Linked DNA regions of Homo sapiens: region 2 is linked to region 1. The links are contacts of gene promoters, found by promoter capture Hi-C in blood cells and fetal thymus (Javierre and others, 2016). All regions are on one chromosome and are shown on one strand. The core of a region is centred on a gene start or on the middle of the fragment in contact, and the rest is flanking DNA. Distances in the headings are between cores, read along the strand shown. Region 1 holds the start of NSD3 (nuclear receptor binding SET domain protein 3). Region 2 overlaps KCNU1 (potassium calcium-activated channel subfamily U member 1).

The links. Contacts are between HindIII fragments. The CHiCAGO score rates a contact against its expected background, and 5 or more counts as called.
Region 2: a fragment that was not itself captured here is called in contact with the fragment with the promoter of NSD3 in region 1 in 1 of 17 cell types (M2 macrophages); the score reaches 7.5 in M2 macrophages.

Annotation. Positions count from the first base shown.
Region 1 is chr8:38,380,987-38,383,535 of GRCh38, reverse strand. NSD3 (nuclear receptor binding SET domain protein 3) reads left to right here and starts at 1,265. Exons shown (of 24, transcript NM_023034.2): 1 at 1,265-1,737. It also overlaps a transcript of LETM2 not described here. RefSeq lists silencers at 359-708, 899-1,048, 1,079-1,478 and enhancers at 1,127-1,917, 2,208-2,549. The HindIII fragment of the contact is 5,398 bases long and covers 1-2,549 here.
Region 2 is chr8:36,854,239-36,856,787 of GRCh38, reverse strand. The region is part of intron 18 of KCNU1 (potassium calcium-activated channel subfamily U member 1); the gene reads right to left. Among named protein-coding and RNA genes, the nearest start is that of KCNU1, 71 kb to the right of the region's middle. The HindIII fragment of the contact is 1,162 bases long and covers 692-1,853 here.

The sequences.
Region 1 (2,549 bases), core at 16-2,515:
TGATATTTAAAGATAGAGATATCTAATTTCTTGTAATAGTACCAAAGACATCCAGCACTATAACGTCTACAGAGTATGACGTCTAGCGGTAAAATGGCTTTATTCTCAGAACAGAGTATCGGTTTCCTCATTTGCTTGCTGCCTCTGTTTCCTTTTTACGTTCACGTCTCTGTGCTGTAACCTTCCAAATCCTTATCACCAGGCCCCAGGAAATATCACCTGGTCGGCACACTCCTGCAGGGCCAGATCACTGTGCACACACTTAACCTTCCATTGTTTTCCATACGTTTCCTAGGATGCGGGGGGCTAGAGGATGACGGAGAGTTGCCTCCCGGTTCTTCCTCTCGTTCTTATCTTGGGCCCTCTAGGACAAATGTCCCTCACGTCCCTCGATGCGAAGGTCTGGCCGCGAGCAGCCGCGGCCTCCGGCACGTGACGGTCACGGAGCCGTCGCGGTCCCCCGCGGCTGGGGGGCACCCGGGGATGCGGCGGGCGCTGACGTCGTCCTCCCGGTTACCCACAAGCCTCCGGGCCGCAGCAGAGCAGGAAGAGGCGCGCGGGGCCGGCGCCTGCCGGGGAGGTCGAGGCGCTCCCTCGGCGAGCCGGCGCCGCCGGCCGGGTCTCCTACTGCTTGCAACCGGGGGAGGGGGACCATCCGACAGCTCAGCCGGGGCTGAGAGGGAGACGACGCCAAGGCGGTCTTGCATCGCCCCCGGCTTTCCAAATGCAGACCCTACCGGAACCGGAGCCCTTCCCTGACAGCCGTAGGACGGGAGACGGCCGAGGGGTCGCCTGGACTGCCCCGCCCTCGCGCGGTGACCCACCGGGGACCGTGCGAGGGTCGCTTCTAACCCTTAAGAGCTAGAGAGCCGAGTCACCCTGAGGAGCGCCGTATGGCGCTGGTTGCGCGTTGTTCTTTAATCAGCCTCACTGAACGCGCCGATCCCAGTTTTACCTCCCGGGCCCCACCTTTCCACGCCTCCTCCGGCTTCCCGGGGTGTTTTGTGTGTCACTCTCCCACGTACAGTCCCTCCCCGTCCCTCGTTCCTCGGCCCTCTCGCCCGGTCTCCCTAGTCGTCCAGACGCTAGCTGCCGCGGGCGTTCCTGGTTCGCGCTCCCGCCCCCTCCGCCCCGCCGACTCGCCGCTTCCTCCGGAGCCCCAGCGTCCCGAACCAGGGACTGCATTTCCCGGCAGGCGCCGCGGCCCGCGGCCAATGAGGGGCTGAGGATTTGGCGGCGGCGGCGCCCCGAGAGTCGGGGTGGGGGGGCTTTGTGCGCGGCGGCGGCGGGAGAGGCGGCGGCGGCGGCCAGCACGGAGGCGGAGGCCGAGGGGGCTGTGCACAGGTCGCCGCGGAGAGGCGTGCGAATTCCGAGCCGAGCGCCGAGGACCGTGCTACCCAGGCCGGGCTGCCAGCCGCAGGCTCCTCTCTGGCAGCAGCGGCGGCGCGGCGACCCCCGTCCCTCGGCCTCCCCTTCCCATCCCACCTCCCGAGCCTTCCTCTTCCCGCAGCACGCCCGGCCCGGCCCGGCCGTGGCCCTCCTCAGTGCCGGCCGCCATGGCAGAGGCGTCCGGCGCGGGGAAAATCTAGCCCGGGGATTTCATGCGGCCTAGCTCGGTTCCGCCTCCTCCTCGCGCGGCCCCAGCGGCTGCCCGCACCCCAGCCCCACTCCGGGCCTCCGTGTCTCTCCTGTGATCGCACTGACACGGCCGGGGGGTTAGAATGGAACAAACTGAAGGTAAAGTGCGTGTGCGTGTGTGTATGTGTGTGTGTGTGTGTGTGTGTGTGTGCGCGCGCGCGCGTGTGTAGTGCTAGGAAGGGCTGAGGAGGGAACGACGGGGAGGGGGCGACCTAGGGATGGAGCGCCAGACCCCAGGAGGAATGGAAGGGGAAGCGGGTGGCCTGAAAGGGCTCGAGGGGAGTCCTGACGGAGGAGCAGATGGCAAGGTGGGGGGTGTGGAGGGAATTGGGGGGTGGGCCAGGGGAGGTGGGGAGTGGGATGGGAGTCGGAGTGGCGCTGAGCTGGGAATTGGGAAAGTGGGATGGGGGCGGGGATAAGGATGGATCGGGGAGGGGCAGGGAAAGGGGAGAAGAGTTGCATGGAGATTACAGACCTGGGTGGACTGATAAATAGGGAGATTTGGGGATGGAGTGTAGGAACCAGAAGAGTCTGGGAGAAGGGGATAAATTTGCTGGAGAAATGGGGCATTTTATGGGAATGAAGGGAGAAATGAGGAATGGAAGTGAAGGAAAAGGTGGATTAGGAAAGGGGATGAGGCAGGCTGCAATAGGAGAATGGGAAATAGACGCAGGAAACTGGAAGACAGGATTGGGCTAGGGAAGGAAATTAACTGAATGATGACAGGGATGAGAACGATCGACTTAGCGTCAGAGTGGGAGGAAGAGAAGGGGATGGAGGTCGTTAAAGTGTTAGGAAGGGAGGCCTTTTGTTCCTGTATTTGTGTGTATTCTGTGTCTTTCTTTCAAGGCTAGAGAATAGAGAAGCTGGTGGTTATGGGATTGTGATTGTTGTGAAATGGGGAGGTGTGG
Region 2 (2,549 bases), core at 23-2,522, 1.5 Mb after region 1:
GCAAAGACTGGTCTTAGAAACCACTCTTACAAAGGGGCCCAAATTTAATTGCGTAATACTGTGGAGCAATAGATAACTCAGGCATAATAAAAAACAATAATAGGCAGCCTGCTAGTGTAGTCTAGGAACTGGGTGTGATACTAACAGAAGCGGAGAGCTTACCATAGAGATCAGGGAAAGAGACCATTAAAATGAGCCCTGCTAAAACCACTATAAGCCCAATGGTTGTTAACCACTGTAGTCCAAGGCTGCACTCTCCAATGAGCAACATCAAAAGCTTCAAACTTAGGGGAAATTTATTTTATAAAACAGTTCAGCCAAGTCACTAGCCAACTAACTAAACAACCAGTGACAACAACAAGCCTTGGTTTTCAGAGCTGCTATAATTATCTACAATATCCATTTTCAACACAAAATATGAGACATGCAAAGTAACAGGAAAGCATGAGACATGAAAATTAACAGGAAAGCATGAGCTATACACAGGGTGGGGAAAGCAGGCAAAAGAAACTTTCTGTGCAAGAGTCCATGTCAGAGTTAGCAGAAAAAATATTAAGAGCCAATATTCTAAATATGTTGAAAGAAATGAAGGAAATCCTGATTAAAGAAATAAAAGCATGATGACAATATCTCCCTAAAGAAACATTATCCATAAACAAATACAAATTTTAAGAAGAACAAAATAGAAGCTTTATAGTTGAAAAGTACATTAACTGATGTTAATTATTCACTAGAGGGGTTAATAAATTGGAGACTGTCTCCCCAAATATTAATATGTGTCTACCCAGAACCTCAAAATGTGACTGTTGTGGACTAAATTGTGCCCTACATCACAAAAAATCTTGAAACCAGCACGAGAAAAATGTGGTTTACATGTGAAACAGCTGACTTCTTATCAGAAAAAATGGAGGTTAGAAGGCAATAAGATGTCATTGAAAAGTGCTGAAATAAACTGCCAACCAAGAATTTTATACCCAGGAAAACTATCTTTAAAAAATGAAGACAAGATACCAGAAAAAAAATAAAATAAAAGGTAGAGGAAGGACACGAGATAGGCCGCCCCTCCATAAAAATAGAATAAACTGGCAAAACTTGTGAGAATTATTTTTTTTTCAGAACTCTGGAAACTAACCAACAGGAGCCTTGAAAACATTTAGTCGAGAGAAATAAATAGATAGCAGTAAGAGATATAAGATTTGTGTTATTTTAATTTACACTAGTTTCATCTCCAGCTCCACAGCTCATCGATAGCTTTCAAAACATAATACTCCATATTCTTGGCACTAGAGGGAGTACAGCAGAAATACAGTTCTTCAAAAGCCTTATTTCCAAAGAAGAGTCATTATTTTGACTTGTCTGGTGGTTCCCTGCATAACCCTACTTGAATGGCTTTTCTTTTTCAGCCTCATTTGCATGTATCTAGTGCTACAAGCCTATCCCCAGGGAGTGTTATCAAATATATTAACGTCACATGTGCCTGAGGCAACAGATAGCAGGGCAAATTGAAGACCAAATGAAAGCATAAAAGGAAAACTGAAGAATAAAATGTCTTCTTACTTATAAGGGACTTTGAAAAACTCTGGAATATTACTGGAAATCTAAATGACAATGAAGATGCCCAGAACTGTGTAAAGCTGTATGCATAAGCAGAAAGGCCTGAGAAGTTCCAAAGCTCTCATCTCTAACTGACCTTGAGGTTTCATACAAGCAGAAAATGAAGGCTAAACACAGTTGTCAACTTTACAGCTGACTATTGAAGGCATGCCCCAACACAAACACAGAATCCTTTGACAAAGACTGAGAAACTTCTTGGTTCCAGGTGTTTAACAAAAATCATTGTCCAATTATAAGCTTACCACTAAGTTGAGTAGAAAATTCAATGGCCACAAATGACAGAGAGATAGACTTTGGGAAAGTCTACTGGAGAATCTGATTTCCATAAATAACACACTATAACCTGTGTAATGTCTAATTTTCAACAAAAAGTTATAAGACTTGGAAAGAAACAAGCAAGATAAAAATACATAGGAAAAAGGCTCTCAATAGACACCATCCTTGAGAGAAGCTCAGATATTGTACTTACTAGTCAAAGACTTTTAAAATCAGCTAATTTAAATATATTTGAAGAGCTTTAAAAACCTATATATAAATAACCAAAAGGAATATGAGAATGATGTCTCACAAAATAGAGAATGTCATTAAATAGTTACAAATTTTTTTAAGTAGAAATCTTGGAGTTCAAAGTACAAGAACTAAAATAAAAACTTTACAAGAGGAACTAAAGATCAGACTTGAGCATGCAAAAAAAAAAAAAAGAATCAGCATACTCAAAGATAGGTGAATGAAGATTATACAGTTTGAGGGACAGAAGAAAAAAGGAATTAAGAAAAATGAAGACAGCCTAAGGGACCGCTGGGACATTATCAAGTGTACCAAAGGATTTAATGAAAGATCCAGGAGAAGAGTAAAGAAAGGAGTAGAGTGAATATTTGAGAAATAATGGCCAATAACTTCTCAAAGTGGTTGAAAAACATTAATCTACACAACTA